7 separate regions of the Homo sapiens genome follow, and all the other regions are linked to region 5. The links are contacts of gene promoters, found by promoter capture Hi-C in human tissues and cell types (Jung and others, 2019). All regions are on one chromosome and are shown on one strand. Each heading gives the region's core, a stretch centred on a gene start or on the middle of the fragment in contact. The rest is flanking DNA. Distances are from core to core; before and after follow the strand shown.

Region 1 (2,700 bases), core at 98-2,597, 410 kb after region 5:
TATGCACCAAATTCCTGTTAGCTAACTGAGGTGTGTGTGGGTGTGTGTGTGGATGTGGATGTGTGTGGCTGGCTGGCCTTCCACACTAAACTGGCAAGGACTATCTCATACTCATCTGAGTCATTTCCCCAGTATGTGTGCATGTGTGGCCCTTAACAGGGGTCCACATAGAAAGGGCATCTAAATAAACCTTTGGAGCGGGGGAAACTAGGAAACTTCATAAAGGGTATGTTGCCTGAGTTAAATCTCAAAAGATGAAAAGACATTAGCCAAACAAGGTAATAGCACATGAAAAGGCCAGGAAGCTCAGAGCATCTCAAGAGCTGATGCTCAGTAAGGGTGGGCAGTGAGGGCCAAGCCTCAACAGGGTAGGCTGATGGTGGAGAAGAGTGGAGACCCACAGATGGGCAGGTGCAGGAGGACAAGGGCTACAGCTGCCACTGACGAAGAATCGAGGAAGAATCTGAAAAACACGTGATCTTCAGCATAGGCTACAGCCTTTTTACATTCTAAATCCTGTTATTCTGCTCCTCTTTGTCCCCATGGTGGTAACTCAGAAAGCACCTCAATACCACCCCAAGCTTCTCACATCCGGCATCCAGCCCAGACATACGAATTAGACCAGCAGAGGCCCAGGGCAGAGGTGGGTGCCCAGGCTGACCAGTGGGCACCCCCTTCTTGAGTGTACTCTGTATCCCTGACAGCCAGAAGACAGCCCCACATTACTTCAGCCCCTGCCTTCTTTGTGTTCCATATTCCTATTTTCTTGACACAAACCATACAAAGTTTCAACACTTGGAGACTGCAAAGTAAACCATTTGTACATACCAGGTCTGGTAACACTTTAAATAATAGGCCAGTTAGTTAATGCTGCACTACAATAAAAATTCCTGTCCAAGTACACATTATGTCCTCATTAATGCCAAGTGAGTTCAGAGTGATTAATGTTATGACAATAAATAACTGGGAAATCATTATGACCACCAGGCTGCAGCACACAGTGGGGCCCAGAGCAGCCTAGGCTTCTGCTACTCTCTGAACACACTAGGGTGCTGCCTGCCCCTCCATCAGGCACACTCAAGCCCCTCCACACCACAGCTCCAGTGAGCATGGGGCTGTGCCAGAGAGCTGAGGCTGGTGAGCCCTACTCATGAGGCCAATCTTGAGTCACCTGGGAAGAGAGGACAAGATTATCAGAACCTGCCCTCTCCTCCAGTGGAAAGAGAGCATGTGTTGGAAGCTGGAAACGAGGCCCTCAAGTCCATGGGCAGAACAGCTCTCATCAACCTCCTGGTAGAGACCCAGGCAGGGAAAGCTGGGCCAGCTCTAGCTGCATTGGGCACCATCAGGAGGGGCTCAGGGAAGTGGGTAGGTCTCTCATGAGGGACAGTGGAGGGTGTGGTCAGGGAAAAAGGGACTCACTGCCCAAGAAGTTCAGATACAGACAGAGGCCCCTGTCTTCAGGAAGTTTCTCTCAGGGCAGTAAATGAAAACCAGCTTTGTGGTTGGTCAAAGAAATAGGGCAGCTGTGCTCTTTCTCAGCATCTCTAAGCCATGTGGGGGCTGGTCCCTGGGATAGGAGACTGGTCCATGGGTAGTATCTTTGAAGCTGGAGATGCCAGGCTAGCAAATAAAATGCTGACAACAGGGAATGAGAACCAGATTAGAAAAAAAAATAACTTTACAAACCATGGAAACTGGCATCTCAGCCTTTAGGGTATAGAGAAGGCTTGATCACCCAAAGAGCAACTTCAGCTCCTCCCCAGCTCATCCCACAAAGCCCACTTTGCACCCATTGCCCAAATGGCTGTGGACTCTGTCTTGGCCTATGGGAGGCCTTAGGCTATTGGCATATGCCAGATCTTATATGAGTGCTTGTTTTTGGCCTTTGTCCTTCTCAGTTTCTCTGAAGCAGGTTTGATCTGGCCTGCTATGAGCCCCTCTAGCCTTTGGGGATTTTGTGAGCAGCACAGTACCTGAAATATAGTAGATATTCAGCACAGGATGGAATCGGGCTCTGGGTGGAAGGCCAGAACTCCCCAGCCTGTCTTTCATTGAATGGACCACTACCTCCAACATTGCTGGCCCTCTATTCACCCCTGCCCAGTATCTTCTCAAAGCACAGCCCCTCAGGAGTGGGCATCTAGGCTAAGACTGGAGCCCCAGATGGACATGGGGGTGAGGAAGGGTGGGCTTACTCCAAAGTAGGAAAGTCCAGCTCAGAGTTTCCACTCAGTCATCAAAAGTCAACCCTATTGATTAATGAAGATGCTGGGTTGACCAAGAAATGAGGACAGAAGTGGCTAGAAGTCAGTGTTGACTTTTCAAACAACCATAAATTCCATAAGAGTGACAAAAGAACCTGCTCTGTAATCTTGCTCATTATTTACACTAAAACCTAATTAAAGTCATTATGTTTTTTGTTCATTAAACAAACTTACTATTACAGACACCAAGCCAGCACAAGGGCTGCTGGGCTCACTCTGGAAGCCAAGAGCCTCAGGCTCAACCAGAGCCCAACATCCAACCATCTTTTGAGTCAAACTTTCTCTGGAAAGAAAGACTGCAGAGAAACAGAATAGGACAAGAAGCTGGGACAAGAAAAGTATCACAAAACTCCCCTGAAGTACATGTCTTCTCTGTTCTGCCTCTTTCTACAAAGCAAGAACAAAGAATTCCTTGCAAGTCCCATTTCATTTC
Region 2 (2,700 bases), core at 23-2,522, 260 kb before region 5:
TGCATGTACAAGTGGAATTGCTGGGTCATATGACAATCCTTTGTTTAACTTTTTAAGTAACTGCTAAACTGTTTTCCTGGGGTATGGAACTTTAAGATGGGCTTCATGGTCCCTGTCTCCTGGTATTCATGTACCCCCTCTCCTTGAGTATAGGCAGAAACTGTGACCTGCTTCTGACCAATTGCAAAGGCAATGAAGTGTCACTCTCTTCAGCATGTGAGATAACATAAAACTGTGTCTAACTAGTCAATTCACTCTAGACATTCTCTCTCTCTCTCTCTCTCTTTCTCTCTCTCTCTCCATTGCTTATTTTGAAGTAGCAAGCTGCCATAGTCAATAACTACAAGGAAATACATTCTGGCAACTACTTGAGTGATCTTGGAAGCAGTTTCTTCCACTGTTGAGCCTATAGATGAGGACACAGCTTGACTAACACCTGGAATGTAGTCTCATGAGACCCTCAGCAGAGGATTGAATAAGCTATATCAGTACTCTGATCCACAGAAACTGTGAGATAATAACCACATATCATTTCAAGTCTCCAAATTTGTATAATTTGTTACCCAGCATAGAAAACTAATGTAGCATGCTAGCAATTGTTTTTATTCAAATAGTATTTTCTGACACAGGTGATTTCATATTCTTTGATTTTTTTCTTTAGCATTTTATAAATGATTTTATGTTATGGTCTTATGAAGGTTGAAATCGTCTCCAAAGCTGCATTTCTTATGAGAAATATAGCTGCCATCTGCATTTTGTTCTTAATTTTATGGAAAATGGCTTTAACATTTCAATATTTGATATGTTATAACTAACTATATATAACTATTAACAAATTTTGTCTATAACTAATCTTCATTTTTTATTTCCACTTTTGTTAGGGTTCTTGTTAGGAATTGCTGGTCCCCCTAAATCTTAACAATGACATTTCTGTACCTATCTACATGATCGCCTGCAGTTTTTTCCTTCTGATTTGTTTGCACAAAGAATTATGCAGGTAGGTGTCTTGATGTTGAATATTTATACATTTTTTAAGATGAACTCCACTTTGACATGGTGCAAAATGCTTTCGATTCACAGCTGCCATTTTTTTTTTTCCTGGAACTCATCAAAATCTGGACAGAGATTTAAATGATGGAAACTTGAGCATGCCTTCCTGATTTCCTTTCTCTCCCACCATCCTCTCTGGAAGGTGTAAACATGACTGAAGCTACAGGTTGTCAATTCTCCTAGAATATGACCAGGCCAAATGGGTCCTATTGCCTCTGCACTGACTCTATTAGGCTGAGACTAGCTGTGGAGAGGCCTTCAGTTAGTGCCCCAGCAGCAGAGTCAGGTTGTCTGGCATGCTCACAGCTGGCTCACGGGAGGAGACATGGCTGTGCCTTCCACCCTTCTCTTGCTCCCTACTCTTTCACAGACCTTCCAACCTGATGGTGCCTTTGCTGAAATTAATTATAGAGAAAAATGAGCAAGCAAAAAAATTTATAACAACATATTTAAGGATTTTCAGGGATAAGGATGTGCCTTTAGAAGAGATGACTTCTACTGACATTGAATAGATGCAAGAGTTCAAAAAGAACTTTAAAAATAAGATATACTCTGAAAGCAAGTCATTTAGAGACCAAGCAAAAAGACTTTCTAGAAATAAAAATATATGATTTATAAATTTTAATAAACTGAAAAGGGTATAGGTGTAGCTAAATACCAATTTAGATCTTAAAAATCCAATGGACAAATGAGTTTGCAACACAGAACAAACACACAGAGTTTGAATCCCTAATTCAATGTGCTAAGAACTAAGCCTCTTCATTTTATTGTTGTCCGCAAACTTGAATCAACAGTGACTAAACTTCACAATCCCATGTTATGATTCAAAAAATGTCAAACCCCAAGTAAAATTCTTGAGGTAAATTCCAGTTTCAGATGCCTAATGAGGTATTCATAAATTAAAGATTTTAATCAAATATTTTATTTTATGATCCCCTCAGTGTGATACAAAGGAACCCCAAAAAAACATTGAACTATGAATTCATAGTTTGTTATTGTTAGTATTAGTGGTGGTGGTGGTGGTGTGTGTGTTTCCCTGTATTTTAGATGTCTCCTGTCTCAGAGAAACGACAGCTGTCTTCTCCAAAGATTGTTTAAGCACAAACAGGACATTTTGCTCATTCATTGTTGTTTGTCACACAAAGAAGTTGCTTTTGTATTTTGTGGTACTGCACTATTAAGGCTGAATTTCTTTTCAAATAAAAATCTGACTCAAGGGAGTGAACAGCTCCATGCTCTAAGCAGGGTTAACCACTGTTTTCAAAAGCTCTGGCAGGGAGATGGAAGCTTGGAGGTAAATTGAAAGATATAGTTTACCAAATGCTTGGGCAAACCTCACTGAGAAGGACATAAATGGATGGTAGCTCCAGGAGTTGTAAGCAGAAGAGGCAGTAGTGACATTGGGGTTGGTCTTTTCACTGCATCAAAGTGCACCCATCTCTCTCCAGTAAGTCTGGGATACAGCTGGCCAGAGGCACATTAAGATCACGTGCAAAAGCAGAAAAACAGGAACTGAAAACCAAGTTCAACAAAAGAGGGAGAAATAAATGAAGGAACCAGGACTGAGTACCACGTTTGGCTCTGAGATTTACTAGAAGGTAACCTCAGAAAGAAATGAAACGTGGTAAATTACTTAGTCCTTATTATCAA
Region 3 (2,700 bases), core at 160-2,659, 280 kb after region 5:
TACCACTGTGGTTTTCATACATCTGTGGCTGTGGAATCTATCTTCAAATGACAGCATAATCATACGCAGAGTGCTATATAAAATAGCAAAATGTACAACTGTACTGTTAAAATTAGGGAGACAGAGTTTCAGTCATCTCTTCCCTGACACCCCCCAAGCTCCCCCCATGGACGCAGGACCTCCAAAAGACCCCTTTATGAAAAAAAAATGTGCAAATCCAGAGCTCATAAATGTTAAATAACTCCTAAAAGATACAAAACCATGATGAGCTTGACAACAATAAAATGCCCCAAAAGAGATGGAGCAAAAACCAATTAACTAATAAAATGAATGCCTGAGAAACTTAAGCAAGATTGTTGAAAGCTGATTTGTTCAGCTTTGGGAACATTCAGGTAGCCTGATAAAGCTCTCCTTCTCCTGGTCCAGCCACCAGAAGGACCAAAGGAATTCTTCCTCTTTTTGGTCAAGGCTCTCAAGAAAAATTTCACAGTAAAGACGTCTCTCCTTTCTCAGAAAAGGGAAAGGGAGTAGGCAGCACTTTTTAATTCTATCCAGCATCCCTTCCCTCCTCCTGAGCTCTTCCTTGTTCTTCTTCTCCACTCCTTAAGTAAGCTCATCCTGCCACATGATTTTAATACCATCTACAGGCTGATGACAGCATTCCCAGCCCTTCTGTCTCTCCAGAATTCCAGTTGCATCTATCTAAGTACCTACTAATCTAACAGAAATCTAGACTCAGCAAATCTAACAAAGAGCTCTGGATTTGCTTTCCCTTTACCCACTTCAATCTTCCCCTTCTTGTTAAAGGACAGCACTATCCACCTAGTTGTTCAAATCATAAGCCCAGTTGTCATCATTGATGTCCTTCCCTATGTCTAATCCATTGGCCAATCCTGCCAGCCTTGCTTCCAGTCAGGTCCTGAACCCATTTCCAGTTGCAACTTGCCTGCTAGCCCAGCTGCCATCATCTTTCACTGGGACACTCACTCCTCTCCTGCATCCACTCTTGCCTCTCTACCATCTATTCCCCTCATGGCGGCCAGAATGACTTTGGAAAAACATCAGCATCCTAAAAGTACCAGCGAGTTCTCCCTGGTCATGCTCCCCCTCCAGCCTCGCTCCATCCCCCTCTCCATTACACCAAGTGGACTGCAGTCACACAGTCTTCCTCTCTCTTTCTCAAACACACAGAGCTCATTCCTGCTCCAGGGCCACTATACTAATTGCTCCCTCTGCTTGGCACACTCTTACCACAAATCTATGCATGGCTGACTCCTTCTTGGCATTTAGGTCTCCGTTTCAAGGTGGCCTACTGAGAGATGCTATCTCTGGCCACTCTGCACTCTCCCGACATCATCTTATTTTATGTTAAACATAGCACTTAACTACATTCAAAATTTTCTGTCTTTTGTTTACGCACTATGTGTCTCCTCTTGTTATCAGTGAGACATAAGTTCTATGAGGGCAGAGAGTTCTTCATGTTCTTTGGCACTGATATTAGCCCAATGCTCAGAACAGTGCCTGGTCCATAAGAGACAATTAATAAACATTCATTGAGTAAATGGATGAGCGAATAGTAAAATGTCTGCTGCTCCTTTGGGGAACTGTTGGTCCCCAAGTCCTTGTAATTATGGTGGAACTGTCAATCACAGTAACTATCAACCCTGTCCATGGCAATGGGGTCAAGATCTTAGCATGTGAATCAAGCAGGGTAGTGACAGTCCCCCTGGAGAGCTATGTACATGGACAGGGACGAAAAGAAATTTCTTTCCTCTGGGCTGAGATATTAGTTTTAATCTAAGGCCATGTCCTTCTCCCCAGTCTGCACAGACAACAATAACACCAACAATGGCAAACCTCTCATGGTGTTTACTATGGTCCAGGGACTACTCTAAAGGCTTACGCATATTCACTAATGTAAGCCTCACAACAACCCATGGGAGGATTCCCACTATTATGGTGGTTTTTTAGATGATAAGACTAAGGCCCAGGGAGGCTAGTTAACTTGTTCATGGTCACTCAGCAGTCTGGCTGCAGAGCTATGCACTGTGTTCTACCACCTCCCATCAGCAGAGAAGAAAGACCAACGCAGGAGGAGAGCAGAGCCATGAAACACAAGACAGGGCCCTGGAGCCTGACTTGATACCCAGATCCAGTTGTCTGTGGCTTATTTCACCTCTGGATTTCCTAGTCACAGGAGTGGTCCTGTGGTCCAGGAACTACTCTAAAATGAAGCACCAGAGAACTGGCCGTACATCGTGTGTTTGCATTTACATGTTGCAAAGAGAAATTAAGCCTTTTGCTTTCAAATTGAAAAATCACTTGGATTGTCAATCAATCAAATGAGAATTAAATATCTGTTGTATATCTTGCGTGTTCTAAGTTCTGTAAGTTCTAAGTTCTGTAAAGCACGCAGAGATACTTAAGACATAATGTCAAGCACACTTCCATGATACAACGTTGCTTGAATCTCCTCCTCAGCCAATCTCCTTCTGAAAGGACAAAACCAGTGTGAAGAGATTGAGTCTATGCTAGAGATGGGAGCCACCACCTACCTGAAGCTTGAGGCATTTACACAGGGAGCTGTGCAGGCGAGAGGAGAGCAAGGGCACTGGGGAAGTGCCTGCTGTTGACGCCCACCCATCCCCCAGGTGCAGAGATCTATGATGGAGCAGGTAGGATGCCACACTGCCTCTGCTC
Region 4 (2,724 bases), core at 194-2,693, 330 kb before region 5:
TGAGTTTTATGTTTAAGAAAATTGAAAGCCTACCCTTTCTTTTTTTTCCCACTTTGGAAGAGTGATATACCAATTACCTTTGAGAGACTTTGTTTTTCTTCCTGGAAGAGAGCTAAACCAGGACTGAAGTTTATGTCAAGGAATCCATTTGGTTATCAAATCTGTGATCATGCGCTCTTATTAAACTAAACCAAATTAAGTTAATATTTGTTGAAAAATAAATGATGTAATTCGTGAAGAACTCTGTTTTACTCCCAGGATGGTGGCCTGTTTCTTCAAAGTAGCCTGTGAGAAAACAAAGTCTGAAATAGTTCTTTAAACTGAAAAGAGGAAATTGTTTTGAGTGTGACAGGTGTCTAGAGGGATCACTACCCTTGAGTGATCTTTGATCTCGGGGTTATCGTTATAAGACTAAATTATATATGCAATTTTCCTGAGACCAAATTCAATGACTGAACTCTAAAATTAATCTGGATATTATTTCTTCTTGGAGTTCTAAAACAAGGCCAGGGAAGATTAGAAGCCACTCATCTGACTGAGACGCATCCTCTGACTTTTCTTGGAATGGATTCCTTATGTGGACAAAATGTGATTTGAATTGCATCTGGTTACTGTTTTTAGAAAATGTTGTTGAAATTCAAACTGAGCCTGTGTACCGTGAGCTGATTTATCAGTGCCTGCCCATGTGAGAACCAGAAAGGAACTAGGAGGTGTAACTGTGGGGAGGTCGCTCTGGGGTCTTTCATCCAGGTTACCTATTAAAGGGGCAGGTCTCCAGGCCAGAAGGAGCAAATGCAGTACACTCCTAGAGGGAAAAGCCTTCTCTTGAGGCTCTGAGAACTGCTAGAGAAGAAACAACAGCAGCATGGTGGAACGAAGACAGAATTTGAAATCAAACACAGCTAAATCTTAAGCCTAACTCCACCATGTATGAGATACATGACTTTTAAAATTAAGTTTTGTAACCTCTCTGAGCCTCAGTTTTCCTACTGGCAAAATAGGAGTAATATTGCCTGCTTTGTTGCGATGTGAGAATTAACAGGGGATTTTATGCATAGTATCTGACATCTGGTAGGTCCTCAAAAATTAAAAAAAAAAATAGTACATCTGCAATCACCTTATCAGCAAATAACATATATTGAATATTTATTATGGGTCAAGCACTATACTCCTTTACCTCCTGTTGATATCTACCTGGACACCTAGCATTAGTGGATACTCAAAAATAAGTCATAAACTGACAAAATGATGGATGAGTCTCCTTTTCCTATTGACTTTCTTTGGCTATGAAAGCACAAATAGGCAAGACCAGAGGGGAAACGTCCACGTGTTCTGTTGTGGATCCCTCAGTGCACGCAAAGCTGTGGGTTTCCAGAGGAACGGTCCCCTCATCACTTCAGTTTCCTGCTCTTGGGTGGATTGCAATGCCCCGCTACTGGGGTAGTAGCCTTCATTTTGTGTACTGTGGTCTTGCTTCTTCTGAATCCAGAGGGTAAAAACTCAAACACCATCTAAAAATGTCAAGTTCTATTTTGCTTCAAGAGCTCCTGAGGGCTGGGCAGAGGTTTTGCAGTTTCACCACAGGCATTTACAAGGGCCGCACACTTTGGCAGAACTAAGTCTCCAGATAGCCTAACCTCTCCAGACCTAGAATGCAGCTGAATTTTAGGGGTCGTGAAAGGGGGGAGTTTCTGGGGGGTCCTGGAAAAGACTAAGTCAACCTTGGTTCATCATCATGCTATGCTCAACGCCCGCCCCCCGCCCCCGCCCCTCCACAGTCAGGGCTTGCTTGGTTTCTGGTTTCAAAATGAAATTTTCACATGGCCCAAATCCCAACCCACCCTAATTTAAAGAAACAGGCACTTGGCATGTGATACAGATAGATCAGCAGTTGCTCATATACAGCTGTGCACATCTGGCACACAGGTATGTGATTTTGCATGAAGATAAATTGTGTGGGGACCAAACGCACAGTTGTTAAACTAAAAATGAATCGCTTCTTGGAAGCAATCTTCCTGCACAGCAGGGCCTCTGTGTGAGCTTGATCCTTTTCATTAGGCCTTTCTCAGAAAGCGCAGTCTTCTCCAGAAGGCCTAGGATGGAGGAGGGGGCATGCCCACACCTGCAGTCGGCTCTTTGCTGCTCCCCTCAAACAACACTTGCACATAACCTCTGACTGCCATGATTGGACAGCCTTCCCAAGGGAGGTACTCAGAGCCCAGGAGAAAGGAAGAGGCCAGGTTCTTCGTTGTACTGCCTCACTTTCCATAAATAATGCTGCATTCAGGATCCTATGCTTCAGGGAGAGTTCTTTTGTATACCATTGCTGAAGGATCCAGGTGTATTACCAAACTTGGTGGACCAAGAAGTCTTCCTCCCTTGGGGGCCTCCTGGAGTCAGTGGTGTCTATCCCTGTGTGCACATCTTGCCTGTAATTCACGTACTTGTAACTCATGGGAGCACCGCATGCTCAAATGCTGTTCAGATTAGCTGGCTCCACTTGAAGATGCTTTGCTGGCACTTTGGAGGAAACAGAAAGAATGAATTCTGCTCTAGGCAATCTCTTGGATTCCATGAAGCACCATGCTGAATCAATGGGATCAATGACTAAGGCTGATACAGAATGTTCCATTCCAGGCTTAGTTTCACAATTTCAATAATAGGAAGTTGCTAGGTGTTACTAGGGGTTGGCACAAATGAATCAGTGACTTTGAAGGAGATTTT
Region 5 (2,700 bases), core at 128-2,627:
CAGCGCTTCTCTTCCCTAGGGGGTTGTGAACCTGGGACACCTAGCCTTGCACGTGGTTTTGTTCCGCAGAGCCAATGCGCAGCTCTTAGCCTGGGTGAAATTTACCAAATTGTGGCAACAAAGAAACCCTTGCGGCTACTTTACACATTGAGAACCCAACCCGCTACTGCCTGAGCTGCTGAAAAAGGACTAAACGTGGTTTTTCATTCTTCTCCGAGACATTTCCGAGGAGAAATTAGTTCAGCAGGCAGCCCTTCACCCCTTTCCCCCTTCTTTCTCTCCTGACGGCTGGATTAGCGGACAGTCAGGGGAGTAACAGAACTTTTCCTGTCCCCAGCCCGGAGACCCTAGGGCTCCACAGAGTTTCCACTAGTGCTGTGTGTGGGTCTCGAATTGGAAAGCAGTGCTTGCGCCCACTGCATTGCCTCCCTGCACCAGGACAATCAAGGGTTCCGCTCCAGGCCTTGACGACACAGAGCAATCATCCTATGGAGAATATCCCTAAGTTAGAGCGCGAGTGCAAGGCGGGGTTCAGACTCGCAGCCCTGCGCTCTCGGGTCTAGGCGGCCTCATACTAGAGCGCAACTCCTCAAAAGACAAACTTGAACGAAAGCGCTACCGAGCTGGGGCATGCACCTGTCCCTGGCGCGGTCGGCTGCGGCTGTGGCCATTCACTCCCTCTCCCTTCCTTCTTCGTCAACCTGGGCGTCAGCCAGAGCTAGGAGCGCGTCTCAGGAAAGTTTGTGCCCGCTGAAGTTGCTCTGGTTTCTTAAAGGGGGCCCACAGATTGACTTTCAAAGTCCGTGGGCACCTCGCCCGTGATTCCGCAGAGCCGGGCGGGCTGGCCGCAGTAGCGGAGGCCCGCCCCCCTTAATCCCCAGCGGTCAGAGGCCGAGGACCCCGCGCAGGAAGTCCTGAGGCAGCACCCCCAACCACCCTGCTCTCACTTTCACAAAAGTCCTACAGCATTCGTTTGGCAAGAGCTTCCTTCAGGGGCATTGAGAGAGAGGAGGCACCCGCCGAGCAGTGACAAGGAACCTGGGAGTCCTGCCCGCATTCGCTTTGCTGAGCCCAGGCGCCCAGGACTGCAATTACCTTGTTCCGCAGAGGTCCTGGGGCTGAGCACGTCTCTGGGGCTTTAGCTGAAGGGGACTGGGGAAGCCGGAGGCCCTGGAGCCCACAGGCGCCCCTGGAGCTCTAGTGTCCCGACTCCTCTCCTGCCGCGGGGACTCCAAGCGCCGGACACGCGGGAGCGAGCGCTCAGCAGCCCCGGATCCTGCACGCCGGGGACGGTGAGCCTCGCTCGCGGCTCCCTCGCTGGGTCTGAACCAGGAGCAGCTGAGAACGTGCCGGGGAGAGGCCGAGCTCCGACTCACTCATCCCTTAGCACCGAGCCGCCTACTTATTTTAATCCACCACCCTCCCTCCTCCACCACCCCCACCCCCGCCCCTTGCCTCAGGATTCCTCCCCTCCCTCCCCTGCCCCCCAACCCTGCCCTGCGCCTGCGCAATGAAAGACAAAGTTTTTGCTGACCCGGGCAGCAGACTTTGGCAGCTGCTCTCGCTTGGACCCGGCCTCTCCCAACCTGCGTCCCCTCCTCTTCAGTCCCGCGCGACCCCTGCTGCCTTTTTAGGTCCAGAGCGGCACGCCTGGCGCACTGGAGGAAACGGTCCCTAGCAGATGAGAGCGGGCTGGCACCGCACGTTTCGAGGTCCTATACTTGGGCTCCTAGGACACAGCCCGTGCTCTTTGGGAGGAGGGAGGGAGGGGCAGTAGCTCTGTGCACCGGGATCCCCACACCGCGGCTTGGGTTTCAACGCACTTTGGCGCCTGACAGAGTCGCATCTCCTCCCAGAATCTCTTTCCAGAGGCGGCAGACCCCGAGTGTGGAGCAGCTCCTGGCTATCCAAGCGTGCTCGGGGCCAGGGTGTTAACCCAGGCAGCGCTGGTTAATTCCTGGTGCGGGAGGGCCAGGGTCACCGAAGCAAGCGAGCTGTAACATCTGAGTGCTTATGGTTGACCCCAGACCCTAAGTTCTGGAGTCCAGTAGAAAGAACAAAGAGTAGGGAAAGGAGGTCAGGAAAGTTATTTTCCTGGGGCCCAGAACTCTCTGAGATTTCACCCCAATGCACAGTGGCACTCTCTACTTACATATTTGTTTTAGGATGGATCAGAGTTTAGAGAGCCGCACTGGCAAGCTAGACGAGCTGCAAAGTTGTCAGTTCCAGGGCCTCTGAGTCAAGGAGCTGGTTCAGGTGGAGTTTTTAATCGGAAAGGAATCAGAGTTCTGGACATTAAAAATTCTATCTTCATTGCCTAGGCATTATGGAGGGTACCATCACCCCCTTGACTACCCATCTCTGAAAGCTGACCTCCGGCTGACCCCAGCCCAATCCCTCCCTAATGCCTTTCTGGAATACCCTTCCAGGCCTTGGGTTTGGCAAGGAGGAGTCACTGGTTTCCTGGGACTTGTGTGGGTCCAGATCACACAACTGCACTCTCTGCCTTTGCCCCAGAGTTGCTGCTGAGTGACTCTTGGAGCTGGATCCTAGATTCCGTGGGTCCCTAAGTACTGTACTGCTTCTCTCCCGAGGAGCTTCTGCTATCTCCAGCTTTGGTTTGCAAAGCTAATCTGATTTTCTTGGGAGGTGAAGAAGGTTGTAATACCTGACCTAGGGAGATGGTAATGAAGACTCCCC
Region 6 (2,700 bases), core at 44-2,543, 340 kb after region 5:
GCTTGGACATAGAGTTTTCTCATGGCTGGAGCCAGGAACGTAGGTGGCTGGGGTCCCTGGAATTTTATTTGGGTAAAGTATTTTAGGAAGGATTAAAGGAAGAACTCACAGATTTTCCAAGGAGCCCTTTATTTTGGTGATCTGCAAGATACCCTCTAGCCTCCCAGCTCCCTGACCCTCTGAGTACATTGAGAGACAATGCACTCAGATGGGACACTAGACACTGACATCTGGACGCAGGGAATGAAACCCTGGCTTCTCTCACCATGGGCCTCCACAAGACATTTTGTCTCTGAGCCTTAGTTGATTCCTCATCTATAAAATGGGCAGGGGGTGGTCCCTGATGACCTCCCTCGTAGGGTTTCTATGAGTATCCATTGGAAATGACATCTATGAAGGCTAACACAGTACTCTACCCATGGAAGTGCTCAGTCAAGGGTGGTGGCATGTTGCTGAGTGCTTGACCCCTGAGACCCAGCCCCAGTTTCTAAGGAAAGCAGAGAGAAAAATGGCCCTCTCTCTAAGCCATGGAGGTCAGCTTAGGCAAGCCCTGGGTCCCTTGTTCCAGAAAAGATTCCCAGGCGAAAATAGCTTTTGCAACATCTATATTGAACAATGGCTTTTTCCAAATAGTCACCTCATAAATGAATGGTCCAAGGACAACTAATTGAAGCCTCTATGATCTACAGCTTTTTCTGTCCACAGGCCCAGGGCAGGCAGATGCACACTGACCTCCTGGGGGCTCACAGACCATCACCAGGGCCATCTGTAGTGAGCGATCCTGGGCTATGAATGCATTTGTACAGTGCACCACCTGTGACCCCACAAATAAGAGGGCATCTCATGGCCTCACCTCCCTCTATTGCTTCCATTAGCAGCATCCTGAAAAGCCAGGCCCTAAGAATTGTTAATTCCTGGCCACGGAGGGGCTCCGAGTTGGGGTCAGGTGTCACCTTCAGGCCTGTGCACCTGCCCACACCCTCTGAGACTGAGCAACTGGCTTAGTCAGGCCCACTACAGGGGCTCCAGGAGCCTGGCCTTTTCCAGAGGGGACATGTGGGACCTCTTTCCACAGAGAGGGAGAAGGATTCCCTCACTCTCCCCTTCTTTCTGCCACATGATGAGGTAGCCCTAGGGTCAGTAAAGCCACCCACTGGCAGGGATCAGCAAAGGAGCCCTGCTGGTGGCCACCTGGGTGTGTCTTCATCCTGGCCCAGCTCATGCGAGTCTTCAAGGGGTGGCTGTGGCTCCAGAGGCAGGTCCATTCACAGGGGCCAGCTCAGGGACTGCATTTGCTGTTCCAGCTGTGAAAGCAGGAAGTGCTTTCCTGGCCTCCACTCCCACTTAGCTTTCACTGAGTACCCACTGCATGCCAGACCTGGAGCTGGGGGCTGGGGGATCAGGGCAGACAGACAAGGAAGACACTCTGGGAAACACCAGGTCTGGTGGATTATAGGTGTTAGGTTTTATATGTGGCTGTACCTGGCTGGGTTTTTTGAGTACTTATTATGTGCCAGAAACCACAGTAAGCACTTAACATGTATGGTCTCATTTAATCCTCACTATTGAACTATGAAACTGTTACTGTTTCTACACCCATTGTATAGATGAGAAAACTGAGGCAGAGACCAGTGAAGAAGTCTATCTAAGGTGACAGAGTGTGTCAGTTGCTGCTCTGGAAAGCAGATGTCAAGCAAAGTTAGAAGTGCAAGAGATTTATTGGAAAAACAACTGTGAAAGACAACAGGGAGAGGGAAAGGGAGAAGCAGGAGGACTTTCAGACATCTGCAAAAGGATTGGCAGGAGGAAGAAAGATTGGGCAGAAAGGCCTGACTTTAATGCATATCTGAAAAAATCTCATGGCCCAACAGATAGCTCCAGTGCAAAGATTGCCTGCAGAGGGTCCCACACAGAGCTGAAATACCCAGGCCCCTGGAGTGCTGCTGTGCTCAGCTGTTGGCTGGGAGAAGCCCAGGGTGAGAGCAAGCTTGGCTCAAACACTGCAGAGGATCCCAAAGATGCAGTAGCTGGAGGCCATCAGCCAACTGCCCCACTCCAAGCTCCTTGACAACATCTGTCTTGCCTGGAGGTCTGAGTCCCCCTCCTGGGAAAGTGGCACACCAAGGAGCTGTGGCTCAAACCAGGTCTTGTGCTGACTTCAGAACCCATACTCTCATTCATTATGCTAAACAGACGAATTCACGGGTGATTATGTCTCTGACTGCTCTCTCCAAAACGTATTAGTCAGTCACCTAGCTGTATGGAGCCCTCACATATGCTTCTCTCCATGCGGTGTAAAGAGAAAGCCTGATTCCTACCTATAGGAGGTTCCAGCTGAGGAAGACAAGACTGAAAAAAAAAGGCACCAAGATGAACTGATCACAGTCTCTGCCTTCACAGAGGTCACCTTCTAGATGGATCCAGGAACCAGACAATTACAAAAGAGTGAGAGAAATGTATGTAAGAGAAAGTGTAAGGAAGGATGAGCCCTATCCCACCCCTGGCAGTTATGGAAGGCTTCCTCAAGGAAGGGGCTTCTTAATGGACTCCTGGGAGGTGAGTAGCCATTAGCTAGATGAAGAGGGGTAGATGAGGATAGGAGCATGTATATGTTTCCCAGTGGGAAGTGGTGGCAGTGGGGAGGGAAGGAAAGAAAAGAGAGCAAAGGGAATAGTATTTCTGACAGAAGGAACAGCCTCA
Region 7 (2,700 bases), core at 136-2,635, 280 kb before region 5:
GAAGGAAAAGGTTGTAGGGGAGTTGGTAAATGTGGAAGAGTCACATGTCAGATTAAAACAGGTCACAATGATGAGCTCTGACTGCTCTGAAAGGCAACAATGTCCGTCCAGCTAAGGTGGGGGAGAAATAGGGACCTGGCAATGCCACCATCCTTCTGTCAGGATAGGGGTGTAGGGTTGCTGTCACATCGGAAGTGAGGGCAGCCTGAAGGTTGGGGTTAGCATTCAACAAGAGGATTGAAAGGACACTTTAAAATCTAGATAGCGTATCTAAAGGATGCCTGAGGAGAATTCCAGTCTTTTATAGAGGGATAGGGAGATTGAATATGTTTTGCTTTTGAAAGCTTTATATTTGCAACTTTGTAGTTCTTTCTGCCATATATTTGAGGTGAAATGGGTATTAAATTGCAAAAGCAACACAGTCCATGCCTATTTTTTTACACACAAATACTCTTAGAGTAAATTCTGTCTCAGTAAGCACCTAGCACATAGAAGGGTGTTTGGATAATGCCTTTATCCAGTTTATCACTAAACTGGTAGTTCTGGTGAAGTAGAATGTCTTTATCCAGTTGCACAGAACTAGTATCTCCTCTATCCCATTAAAGAGAAAATTGATTTATTAACTGTTGATATTTACACTTGGGGAATTCATCAGGCTACTTGATCAGTAGAACCAGGAATCCTGCATAGATTGCTGTGGTATAAGGAGAAGATACCAATAGGAAATAGGTGAGGGTATAGAGTTGAGTGGTTTTGTTGTGCATGAAATGTTAATGCTTGTTCATCACGAAGAATATCTTATTTCTGAAACCAAGTATGACCACACTCTGTCACTCTCAAGTGTCTAAGGAATATATTTCCACTTTTGTTGTCCCTATAAGAATGTTTTGCTGGGGTCCTGCAAACTTACTGCCAGTCAGAAGGCAGGCTGCAGGCTGGGCATGGTGGCTTTCACCTGTAATCCCAGTACTTTGGGAGGCCGAGGCAGGCGGATCACCTAAGGTCAGGAGTTCGAGACCAGCCTGGTCAACATGGCGAAACTCTGTCTCTACTAAAAATACAAAAATTGGCCAGGCATGGTGGCAGGCACCTGTAATCCCAGCTACTCGGGAGGCTGAGGCAGGAGAACCCAGGAGGTGGAGTTGCAGTGAGCAGAGATCATGCTGCTGCATTCCAGCTTGGGCGACAGAGTGAGACTCTGTCTCAAAAAACAAACAAACAAAAACAAAAAAAAGGCAGTCTGCAAATGCAGATATTGCATATTGTTCTTATATGACTATGCAGAGAAAGGCTCTCAGAAACTCCATTACATAAGAGTAATTGGCTGAGAAATCCAGATTAGCCACCTGATTTTATCTGCTGAGGTGCTGGAAATGATGGGATTTTCATATTTTTTAAAGTCTTCGAAGCATTTTGTGTTTCGTTTCATTTATTAAAGTAAGTAAATAGCCTCATCAGATAGTTTATACATCTCTTTGGATAGGTCATACAAATGTGTTCTACAAGAGCTTACATGTGAGTAAATTTAATGTTTAAAGTGTAAATATATAGATAGGGCTCACAAAGTAGTTTTCATAAAATAGTCCCTAGGGCACTGATAGCTGCTAAGATTGCTGTTTTAGAAGCCTTGCTCTGTTTGTAAATGAGAGACATTGTCTTATGTGAATAGTGAGAATGATACAAAGTCCTGGTTGTGCAAGTGTCTCTATGAAGGGAGCAGCTGGCCCTTCCTACAGAAGTTCCTTCTGTAGCCTGAGTCACACAGTCAGCACTTGTGGCTCTATTGGCTGCCTTTATCTTCTGCATAATGGATATGAAGGTTGCATTCATAGTATTAATGAGTAGTGACTCCAGTGGCCATGGCTGGCACCAAAAATAGCATGTTGATCATTACCTTTGGTCTTAAAGAATGAGTAGCACAGAATGCCTGTGTCCCACCCTATATGAGGCCTTTTCTCCCCTGCAGAGCAAACTGGCATCTTTCTTTGGCTTCTTTCAGAGAACGGGTTTCCAAGCCAGCCATGAGTAGCCTCTGGAGCTTTTTCTGAGCCAGCTCCTGGTGGGGCATTGGGCTGTGGTCTATTCTAAAGAGAGTAGTTGGCATACACAAAGAATGAGTTTATTTGTAAACCACAATCACATAAACGTGAAGGAACACACAATGTCTGCCAGCAATGTCTTTGACCTGTGTGTGGAATACACTAGCAAGCAGTGGAATAAACTAGAACCATTGGTGTCAGAGCTGGAAGGGCCTTCAGCGTCATAAGGGCCAAGTCCACAATGATGACCAAGAATAAGCAACCTCCCCAAGGCCATTCCACCATTAAGTGAAAGATCTGGTCACTTCTAACTCCAGTCCAGGTGGCTTTCTATTGAACCAAAGACCCTCAGTTCCCTGACTTATAAGAGAGAACAATACCTGTCCCGCAGGATGCCCATAATGACTAAGTGGGTTAACATCTATGCAAGTACCTCACACAAAAATAGGCCCCAATTAAATGTTTAATAATATTTTTCTTATCAGATTAAAACCCTGGAGCTTACTTCACTCACCATTGTCCATTTTCACCATGATCAGTGCTGATGCTACACTCTTTCCATCTATGCAAAACCTGTTGTGATGCTGGACACATCACAGGTATGAGTTTCTGCCCCAGGGCTCATTGATGGCACAAAAGTTGAATTAACCCATATAGAAAA

Evidence for each region. The method cuts DNA at HindIII sites, captures the fragments that hold promoters and counts their contacts. A contact is called where the count stands out against the background at its distance.
Region 1: a fragment that was not itself captured here is called in contact with the fragment with the promoter of OSR1 in region 5 in 1 of the 25 tissues and cell types used here (H1 embryonic stem cells).
Region 2: a contact is called between a fragment that was not itself captured here and the fragment with the promoter of OSR1 in region 5, in 1 of the 25 tissues and cell types used here (hippocampus).
Region 3: a contact is called between a fragment that was not itself captured here and the fragment with the promoter of OSR1 in region 5, in 1 of the 25 tissues and cell types used here (H1 embryonic stem cells).
Region 4: a contact is called between a fragment that was not itself captured here and the fragment with the promoter of OSR1 in region 5, in 1 of the 25 tissues and cell types used here (H1 embryonic stem cells).
Region 6: a fragment that was not itself captured here is called in contact with the fragment with the promoter of OSR1 in region 5 in 1 of the 25 tissues and cell types used here (neural progenitor cells).
Region 7: a contact is called between a fragment that was not itself captured here and the fragment with the promoter of OSR1 in region 5, in 2 of the 25 tissues and cell types used here (aorta and hippocampus).

Annotation. Positions count from the first base shown.
Region 1 is chr2:19,762,290-19,764,989 of GRCh38, forward strand. No RefSeq gene overlaps it. Among named protein-coding and RNA genes, the nearest start is that of LINC00954, 110 kb to the right of the region's middle. The HindIII fragment of the contact is 9,190 bases long and covers 1-2,700 here.
Region 2 is chr2:19,096,826-19,099,525 of GRCh38, forward strand. LOC124907738 (a long non-coding RNA gene) reads left to right here and starts at 1. Exons shown (of 2, transcript XR_007086235.1): 1 at 1-997. The HindIII fragment of the contact is 3,551 bases long and covers 1-2,700 here.
Region 3 is chr2:19,633,198-19,635,897 of GRCh38, forward strand. The region is part of intron 3 of LOC124905977; the gene reads right to left. Among named protein-coding and RNA genes, the nearest start is that of LINC01808, 170 kb to the left of the region's middle. The HindIII fragment of the contact is 6,142 bases long and covers 1-2,700 here.
Region 4 is chr2:19,027,253-19,029,976 of GRCh38, forward strand. The region is part of intron 5 of LOC105373456 (a long non-coding RNA gene); the gene reads left to right. Among named protein-coding and RNA genes, the nearest start is that of LINC01376, 1.6 kb to the left of the region's middle. The HindIII fragment of the contact is 6,450 bases long and covers 1-2,724 here.
Region 5 is chr2:19,357,246-19,359,945 of GRCh38, forward strand. It overlaps OSR1 (odd-skipped related transcription factor 1), which reads right to left and starts at 1,378. Exons shown (of 3, transcript NM_145260.3): 1 at 1,096-1,378. RefSeq lists enhancers at 1-56, 722-1,250. The HindIII fragment of the contact is 12,145 bases long and covers 1-2,700 here.
Region 6 is chr2:19,693,786-19,696,485 of GRCh38, forward strand. The region is part of intron 1 of LOC124905977; the gene reads right to left. Among named protein-coding and RNA genes, the nearest start is that of LINC00954, 170 kb to the right of the region's middle. The HindIII fragment of the contact is 8,525 bases long and covers 1-2,700 here.
Region 7 is chr2:19,077,202-19,079,901 of GRCh38, forward strand. All of the region lies in intron 5 of LOC105373456 (a long non-coding RNA gene), which reads left to right. It overlaps LOC124907739 (a long non-coding RNA gene), which reads left to right. Exons shown (of 2, transcript XR_007086236.1): 2 at 1-2,700. Among named protein-coding and RNA genes, the nearest start is that of LINC01376, 52 kb to the left of the region's middle. RefSeq lists a silencer at 1,447-1,741. The HindIII fragment of the contact is 4,532 bases long and covers 1-2,700 here.